Linked DNA regions of Homo sapiens: region 2 is linked to region 1. The links are contacts of gene promoters, found by promoter capture Hi-C in blood cells and fetal thymus (Javierre and others, 2016). All regions are on one chromosome and are shown on one strand. The core of a region is centred on a gene start or on the middle of the fragment in contact, and the rest is flanking DNA. Distances in the headings are between cores, read along the strand shown. Region 1 holds the start of FAM124B (family with sequence similarity 124 member B). Region 2 has its middle 50 kb from the start of FAM124B.

What was found. Contacts are between HindIII fragments. The CHiCAGO score rates a contact against its expected background, and 5 or more counts as called.
Region 2: a contact is called between a fragment that was not itself captured here and the fragment with the promoter of FAM124B in region 1, in 1 of 17 cell types (endothelial precursors). The highest score is 6.3, in endothelial precursors.

Annotation. Positions count from the first base shown.
Region 1 is chr2:224,399,591-224,404,590 of GRCh38, forward strand. It overlaps FAM124B (family with sequence similarity 124 member B), which reads right to left and starts at 2,517. Exons shown (of 2, transcript NM_001122779.2): 1 at 1,447-2,517. The coding sequence starts at 2,178. The HindIII fragment of the contact is 5,745 bases long and covers 1-4,724 here.
Region 2 is chr2:224,449,790-224,454,789 of GRCh38, forward strand. No RefSeq gene overlaps it. Among named protein-coding and RNA genes, the nearest start is that of FAM124B, 50 kb to the left of the region's middle. The HindIII fragment of the contact is 7,871 bases long and covers 1-5,000 here.

The sequences.
Region 1 (5,000 bases), core at 1,267-3,766:
GCTTGCACATTTACACACATACACTGGACTGCAGCGGCTGACCACATGAACTTTGAGGGTAGATAGATACTTCCTATCTTGGGCAAATAACTGACCCCCTGGAAAGCTCAGTTTTCTTATCTCCAAAATGGGAAAAATAGTAACTTCATAGGTTGTTATAAGTATTAAATAAAATTATCAATTTAAGAGAATCCTTAGTATAGGGCATAATATGAACAATAATAGCTAAAATTGAGTTCTTGGCACTATCTTAATTATGTACTTTATAAGTGTCAGGTCATTTCCTGTAAGTAAGTATGAGAGAGGAAGATGCTAATTCTCGGGTGCCTTTATTGTGCTAATGAAGAAACTGAGGCCCACAGTCATACAGCTACTAAGTGCCCAGGCTCACATACCATGGAAAGGCAATGCACGGCAGCTATCATGACTAAATACACACATGCTATGTTAGGTTTTCGAGGATGGTTACAAAGGAAGGCTTTAATTTCAAGTTTTTTTAAGAAAGCATTCTATCTAACTTGGTATGTGGTAAAATTTGACAGTGATGCAAGATGCTTAAAAATTAAGTCAATACGAGTTGATGGGTGCAACAAACCAATATGGCACATGTATACCTGTGTAACAAACCTGCACTTTGTGCACATGTACCCCAGAACTTAAAGTATAATAATAAAGAATAAAAATTAAGTCAATAGTACTGCAAACTTAACATCCCTAAACAAGCTCGGCCAACATAGTGAGACCCCGTCTCTAGAAATAAAATAAAATAGCCAGACATGGCGGCACGTGCCTGTAGTCCCAGCTAATCAGGAGGCTAAGGCAGGAGGATCACTTGAACCCAGAAGGTGAAGACCTCAGGGAGCTATGATGGCACCACCGCACTCGAGTCTGGGCAACAGAGGAAGACTCCCATCTCTAAAAAATAAAAAAATTAAAAATTAAAAAAACCATATCTAAACATAAGTATGACTTCAACTTCCTTAAGTCAGATTAGAAGAGCTTGTGACATTCCTGAGCCCAAAGAGTAAACAAAGGATAGGGGTATAGTTGATGGGCATTTAAACGGCAAGCCTGAGAAAGGAGGCCGATTCTTTAATAGGATTCTGATCTTTATAGTAGAATCCTGTCTGATTCTACTATAAAGTACTTGTGTCAGCTGCAAATTCATGGAATCTGAACTTTCTTATCTGTCAGATGAGATTTTATGAGATCAGTGATTCTCAACCCTGTTACAGATTACAGTCATCCAAGAAGCTGTAAAAAAGTTACCTAGGCCTGGATGTTCCCAGAGATTCGGATCAAACTGCCCTGGGGTGGGAATTTATGAAAGACCCTAAGGGACGCTAATATGCAACCAAGTCTGAGAACCACTAGCTTAGGCCCATTCCGATGTAAAATTACACAGCTCCATGAGCCTCTACAAGATCTGAGACAAAACAGAAATACCTGAAGCAGAATCTTGTTGCCATCGTAGTCCTGAGTCTGCCACCTGGTGCTGCTGATAGGCATGCATGGATTGGGTAGCAGAGGCACTAACTGGCCGATCTCTTGAACCTTAAACTGCAGCACCGAAGACTCTTTGGGGTCCACTGACATTCCCGGGGGCAGCTGCTTCAGGGAGAGCTGCAGAGCAAAGCTCTTGGAGGCATAGAGCACGAAGAAACAAAAATTGCTCTTTTGCAAGGTCGCTTCTCTCTGCAGGATCATCTCGTAGAGTCTGATGGCGTCTTCATAGTTATCAAAACTGCAGTACAGCGTCACCCTCAGGATCTCGGAGCCACAGTGCACCTGCCTCACCCCCCAGATGGGCAGCTGACTGTCCAGGCTGTAGAACTCCTGATTGGCAAAAAAGTAGGGACACAGCCTTCCCCGAGTGTCCTGGGTGGGGTAGCACTGCCATGGCGAATGCTGGAGAGAGTCCAGGACGCGAAATAGCCTATCCTCTCCCGGGCTTTCGTGCAGGAAGAGCAACACGGACATCCCTGGAAACCGGGACCGCTTGGAATGGGACTTTTCACAGTATTTCACAGGACTGGCCCGTTCAGACACCTGAAAGAGCCGGACCTCTGGGCAAATGCAATCCAGGAGCTGGTCCAGAGTCCTCTGCAGAAGGGAGCCGTGCCCAGAGTTGGCAAGAAGATGGACAGTCATGGCCAGAGGCCCCTGTGTCTCATCCATGGAGGAACTGCCTGAGGCTGACAAAGACAGCGTGTGTAGAAGGCCCACTGTTCAAGTTTCTGAAATGAATGAAGAAGCGGCCCAGCCTTCAGCCCGCCTGAAAACCTTCAGCTGCAGCGGCTACTTCTGAGCAGAGCTCTTAACCAGACTAACACGTGCTCCTGGCCACCCGTGGACTTACGGCAAGAGAAGCTCACACCAGCTCGGGTTCAGCAGCCTCCCTCTCCACACAGCAGCAGCGGGGTCACGTCATCCAGCTTGTGCATAATGTAACTGCTTGTGTTTAGCCTTTTCAGGCGTTCCCCAGGGTTTCTGCGTGACCTAAAAACCTATAATCCTGAGAAACACCCAAATGGGCGGCTCTTATAGACACTTAGTACAGGAAATGACCGGCCGAAAAGGAACATGAGTTGGCTCTGTTAGGCTGATAGCAATCTGTTTAGTTGAAAAGACATCCATTTTATCAACTTACAACGGGTTCTCATTTCCTACTTACGGTTTACAGTAGCCTGCTCCACCAATCTGAATACAATGACTTCTTGAAAACAATTCTCAAAACCTGACCCTTTGCCAGTTTTTTTTTTCCTTTGTCTCTTTATTTCATTTTGTTTCTGAACATTTTCTGCTAGGGCACGAAGAGAAGACTTTATCTAAATAATTTTGACTTCACTGAAAATTATTTGCTGTACCGAAAATTCTGAGTGTACTAAAAAGACATTGAGAAAATTAGTCTTCCTTTATTCACGCAAATTCTTTAGAAAGAGTGAGAGCTTTCCTATAATTGCTCATATAATTATAATAATAAATAATTATAATTAACAATTGTAATTATAATTTTTAGTGTCTAATGAGGATCTACTATGTACCAGTCATAAACTGTTCTAATTCTTAAAGTAATTAGTTTTGTTTTGTTTTGGAGATGGAGTCTTGCTCTGTCGCCCAGGCTGGAGTGCAGTGGCGTGATCTTGGCTCACTGCAACTTCCACCTCCCAGGTTCAAGAGATTCCCCTGCCTCAGCCTCCCCAGTACCTGGGATTATAAGTGCGCCAACACGCCCAGCTAATTTTTTTGTATTTTTAGTAGAGACTGGGTTTTGCCATGTTGGCCAGACTGGTCTCGAACTCCTGACCTCAGGTGATCTGCCCGCATTGGCCTCCCAAAGTGCTGGGATTACAGGCATGAGTCACCACACCTGGCCCTTAATGTAAATTAATTTAATCTTGCAACAAACCTATGAAGAAGAGATTACTAGCCCCAAATTACAGATGAAGAAACTGGGGCATAGAAAGGCTAGGTAACTTGCCCAAGGTCTCACAGCTAAGAAGTAGCTGAAGGATGATTTGAACCCAGGAACTTGCTGCACTGCCTCTCTGGGGCCTTGAAGTCCCAGCCTGGGTATTCTTCTTGTAAGGAAAAGATATAAAAGCAAGTTCTGGTTAAGGATCTAGATTTGCAGACTCTTGAGCTGTTGAATCTTAAACGGAATAATCTTCAATGAGAAAGTTGTCAAGCTCTAAACACTCACCCTAAATGTGTTCTAAATATTGATTTAAAAATTATTTGTGGCCACGCATAGTCGTCACGCCTTGATCCTAGTACTTTGGGAGGCCGAGGCGGGTGGATCACCTGAGGTCAGGAGTTCGAGACCAGCCTAGGCAACATGGCAAAACCCCGTCTGTACTAAAAACACAAAAATTAGCCGGGCAAAGTGGAGCATGCCTGTAATCCCAGCTACTCAGGAGGCTGAGGCACAAGAATCACTTGAATCCAGCAAGTGGAGGTTGCAGATCGCACTACTGCACTCCAGCCTGGGTGATAGAGCAAGACTCCGTCTCAGAAAATAAAAAATAATAAAAATAAATAAATAAATAAATATTTTTAAAAAATCATTTGCTCTCCTGATAGCTGTGCTCCTCAACAGGTATGAACAAGCACTTTTTCTAAACACAATTCTTTTTAAAAGAGGCAATTGGACCAGGCGAAGTGGCTCACAACTGTAATTTCAACACTTTGGGAGGCCAAAGCAGGACAATCGCTTGAGCCCAGGAGTTCCAGGCTGTGCTGACCTAAATTCATGCCACTGCACTCCAGCCTGGACAACAGAGCAAGACCCTGTCTCAAAGAAAAAAAATGTACTTCAAAAAGAGCTGTAAAAAATTAAAATAAAAGAGGCAAATTTATGAATCCTTATAATGAAACACAGTGTGACAATTTTTTACATTAAAAAATACTTTTGTGATGAAAAATATAACAACTTTATATATCTGGATTCCTTTAATAGTATAACAACCTAATTTAAAGTAAAATATTATTATCCAAGAAAAGGAGTTATTTCTATTCAGATTCACTATGTAAATCTAACGTACAATTCTAATCATTTGTGTTTCATAATTCCTGTACTTTTTGCATGGGAAAAATACATAAATACAATTTATAACAGAGGAATTGTTTCCTAGTTATTGTGAGCAGCTCAGTAATTAAATTCATCTTGTTTCAACTTTTAAAAAAATCATTAGAGGTTTTTTTTTTTGGCATTACAAATCTCAAGCTTTTTTAAAAAAAACTCGACAGCATTCATGTTATGCATTGGCATTGGAAGCAGATAACTATCTCATCTCTCAGTGTGAACACTCTCCCTTCCGCAACCCTTCCATTCACAGAGCTGATTGTACTTTAGACAAAACTATAGTTTTTGAAATAGGCTTTGAAATTCTGGAAATAACTCTAAAGATTTGAGGAGAAAAATTGTTCCCCTGAAACCACGATATTAACTCACAACATTTTGCACAAGGTAAGTATTAAAGCTCTTACATAGGAAAAGA
Region 2 (5,000 bases), core at 1,672-4,171, 51 kb after region 1:
ACATGGCGCCAAGTGTTTTATGTGCCAAGTCACATAAAACCAATGGTAAAAAAAATGTTGGCAAAACACACACACATATGAACATTTGATTGGAGAGCTTGATTGGACCAATCAGTTTGGCCCAAACTACCTTGTTTAAGTTACACACAGAAAGGTTGTGCCCCTGCCCTGAGGTCTCACCCCAAGCTCAGTTTGTAAATTAATAACTAATGTTCTTTCCATGATCCACTCTTAATTTCCAAAAAAATAGTAACAACTAATCAATGCTACAGTGGGCTCTTTTTATAAACTACTATTAGACATTTGCTGACAAGACCCAATGGGAGAGAATATTATTCTTCAAGTGAATTCATGTATTATTGTCTGTGTTTTGAATAAAAACTTTGGTGGTATATATTATTTGGGAACTTGTAGAGCAAAATTTTCTCCTATAAAACATTAAATGTTATACTAATTAAGTATTTTTTCTCTAGCTTTTATACAGTCAACTTGAAGTTTAAGAACTTAAAATCAGATTCAAATCCTGATATGCTATATTTTTAACTGGGGAGCATGATTAGAATAAGAATGAATTATCTGAAAGTAGCAAGTACCAGTGGTTATCCAGAATCAAATATTTTATTTTGTCGAGGTTGGGAAAAATCCAAATTATATTTCTACTTTGGATATTTTAATTAATTTTAATTATGATTGTTAAAAGGCATTTAATCTTTTTTCCCCCTGGTTGATTTAAACTTACTTATCTAGTTGTTTTCCAGGACCTGTCTGATAGATACCTCACTTGGAAGCTACAGTGGCTTCCTATTACTTATCATGTTAAGTCTGAAATTTTCCACCTGCCAGTCCCCTCCAACATTCCATTTCTTTCTTTCTTTCTTTTTTCTTTTTTTTTTTTTTTGAGACGGAGTCTCACTCTGTCACCAGGCTGGGGTGCAGTGGCAGGATCTCAGCTCACTGCAACCTCTGCCTCCTGGGTTCAAACGATTCTCCTTCCTCAGCCTCACGAGTAGCTGGGACTACAGGTGCGTACCACCATATCCAGCTAATTTTTGTATTTTTAGTAGAGACGGGGTTTCACCATGTTGACCAGGATTACCTCGATCTCTTGACCTCATGATCCACCCGCCTTGGCCTCCCAAAGTACTGGGATTACAGGTGTGAGCCACCACGCCCGGCCCATTTCTTTTAACCACTGTATTTTTGGGTCTTAACTGTGCCACTCAAGACAATCAGACTGCTCTTCTCATGGGAAGGGCGTCCTGTTCTCAACCCTTGGCCTTCCCCATGTCTCACATGAATGTGAAGAAGTGGAGTGTGGCATCCCCAGGCAGATCTCCAATTCCATTTTCAAAGTCATCATAGATGGATTTCTTGGTTCTCATCTCTCCTTCGCACTCTCTTCCCTTAATACACTATTGTTCTCTCTTATCTGGTTCCTCTTACAGCCACTCAAGCTCCTGACAAAACTTTATGGTAGCATAAGAAACTTGAGGAATATGTGTGTGTGTGTGTGTGCATATATATATACACATATGTATACACACAAATACATATATATATACATATTTGCATATATGTTTAATGACATGAAATAATTGTCTAAAAGCAATCATAAAATTTAAAATAAAATATTAATACACAAATCCTTGGCTGAGCACAGTGGGTCACGCCTATAATCCCAGCACTTTAGGAGGCCAAGGCAGGCAGATCACTTGAGGTCAGGAGTTGGAGACGAGCCTGGCCAACATGGTGAAACCTCCTCTCTACCAAAAACACAAAAATTAGCCAGGGGTGGTGGCACGTGCCTGTAGTTCCAGCTACTTGGGAGGCTGAGGCAGGAGAATCACTTGAACCCGGAAGGCAGAGGTTGCAGTGAGCCAAGATCGCGCCACTGCACTCCAGCCTGGGCAACACAGAGAGACTCCATCTCAAAAAACATAACTAACTAACTAACTAACTAACTAAATAATTATATGGGACAATAACTCAAAAATACCACCATTTAAAAAAATCACATATACATACAAACTCTAACGTGTATAAATGCTGCCCATCCGTGACATTTACATACAAATTTTAATAGCTGTCTAAGGCAGTGTTTTCAAATTTTAGTGTGCAATAGAATACTTTGTGGATATTGTTAAATTTAAATATTCCCAGGCCCACCATTCAGAGATTCTGATTCAGTGGTGTGGGAAGAAGTCCAGACATCAGGGTGTTTTTAGCAAGCATCACAGATAATTTTGAGAAAAGTAGCTCATGAATGACACTTCGAGAAACACTACCATGAGAAATATTTTTTCCCCAAATAAAGCAGCCCCTTTCCTGTTTCTATATTTATGAATGATGAGATTATTCTATAAGTAAAATTGTGAAATAGAACATGTTAATTTCAAAATCTTCAGTCTCACCTTTTTAAAATTTTTTTAACATAATGTTTGAAGTTTTAGTTTATTTTAAAAGTCAATTTTAATTCTCTTAAATTGGTTTGCATTTATGGTACAGTTTTGTCATTTATGAGAATAAGAGATTTTTTTCCTTCATTTAACATGTTTACTTAATTCTCAGAAATATTTGAGGCTGCATGTTAGAATCCCTTTTTAAAATATGCCAATAAGGAACATGTCTGAACTTACTTTTTAAAGTTTACTGCGTTATTCACTTTCCTTGGCATATCTCCATTAGAGTTAGAATAGGTAATCAAAAACAGTCATTGACCTGATTCTAGGATTTTGACTGGATATAACTTTTTTTTTTTTTTTCTGAGACAGGGTCTCGCTCTGTTGCCCAGGCTGGAGTGCAGTGGCACCATCTCGGCTGTCTGCAACCTCAGGCATGCACCACCACATCCGGCTAATTTTTGTATTTTTAGTAGAGACAGGGTTTCACCATGCTGGCCAGGCTGGTCTCAAACTCCTGACCTCAAGTGATCTGCCCACCATGGCCTTCCAAAGTGCTGGGATAACAGGTGTGAGCCACTGCACCCGGCCCACTCATTATTTTGAAGAGAATATATCCTATGGGCTTCAGGGGAATTTTTAGGAAATCTACCTCTTTTCCTCAAACAATTAATGTCAGAACTTTGATGCAAATTCTCCTTTTCTTAAAACATCTAATCCAGGAGGCTGAGCAAGGCTGATCTTCTACCTGGAAAAGTGGAAGAAGTGAGAGGTCACGAGTCACTTGGACATCACTGTACCACCTAAGGCCCAATGGAGAATGAGTAAGGCTACTATAAACATGGTTTATCTGTGCTATAGGAATGCAAAACATTGTTTGGTGTCAGAATTTGCAAAACATGCTTTATAGCAATTCAAAAATATAACATGTAAGCCTGTAAGACACTGAAGAAACCATCTAAGTCATCTAAGCCCAATGCCTTCATTTTACAGATTGCATAAGTGAAGGCCAAACTTGCAGGAATCCCAAGATCTCATTGAGAATGAGATTGAATCTTAATTATCATTACAAGCCTATGCATTTCTTCCAGAACATAATAAGCATTAAATTGATAAATCAGGTTTCTTGGATTAATTGTGAATGAATTGAAAAAGGTCCTGGATTTTCTAACTCTCAAGTCCAATGTCAAACCCAGAACAAAACAATTTGACACCAGAATGACCTTTGGTATCTCCTGCAGGTAATGTGGACCCTGGTATATTTTAGTTGTTTCAAACAACTGAAAGCTGTGTCTGTTTTCCTGTATCTTTGCCAACACTGAGCAGTGTTAATATTTTTTATATTTATTTAATTATTTATTTATTTGTTTATTTATTTTTTGAGACAGAGTCTCACTCTGTCGGCCAGGCTGGAGTGCAGTGGCACGATCTTGGCTCACTGCAACCTCTGCCTTCTGGGCTCAAGCAATTCTCCTGCCTCAGCCTCCCGAGTAGCTGGGATTACAGGGGTGTGCCACCATGCCTGGCTAATTTTTTTTGTATTTTTGGTAGAGACGGGGTTTCACCATGTTGGCCAGGCTGGTCTTGAGCTCCTGACCTCAAGTAATCCACCCACCTCGGCCTCCCAAAGTGCTGGGATTACAGGCGTGAGCCACCGTGCCCGGCCAATTGTCCTCTTTTATTACTGATATCGAGCAGCTTTTTTCATGTTTGTTGGGAAACTGTCATTCTCCTGTGAATTTGGAATGCACTTCCTTATTGTGTTTTACCTTCCAATGTTACTGTCAAGAATATCATTCATTCTGATACTTGATATTTGTACGAAGCCTTTCACTCTCTGTCAGAAAATTTGTAAGCTCTTTTCTCTGTTCCTAGTGTTATGAAATTTTGTGTCATAATGATAGACTTTGTATTGTGTCTACTTTGAGCACTTGGTAGGCCCGTTCCATGGGAAAAACTCATTTAGCCTTAGGACAAAACTGTTTCTTTGCCTTTCTTCTTCTTCTTTTTTTTTTTTTTTTTTCTATTCTCTCTTTCTGGAATTCCATTTAGATATCTAACATCCTGAGCCAGTTCTCAATCTTTTTTCTCGCATTTCCTCCCTGCTTTCCAGTAAATTTCCTCAACTTGATTTCCCAATTCTTCTATTGAGTCTTTCATTTCTATGATGATATTTTTAATTTCTAAGAGCTCTTAACTCTCTAAATATCTTTTATTTTTAGAGCATCCTGTTCTTGCTTCACTGATACCATATCTTCTGTTAGCCCTCTGAAGATAGTTCTTGCACATTTTCCTTCTCCCTGAAGAGTCTCTCTGTGCTTCTAAGTAAGTTTCTCTATCTTGGTCTCTCATATTTTATGCTTTTGTCATTCGCTGTTACAATAGGCATCCAAAGGCAGATTGGAAGCTCTGAGTGTGAGGTTTGTCGACCACCATCTTCACTTTGCAAAGCTCTGGCTGGGCCATTTCTTTAGGGCATCCCTGATGTAAACATCTCTGTGTCTCTTGTCTTGGGGGAAACCCAGTCCATCTGCCTAGAGGATTCATCTGCCTGGCTGCCAGCATTCTGAGAGCTCTGCTGGGGAAGTGGGCTTCAAGTCT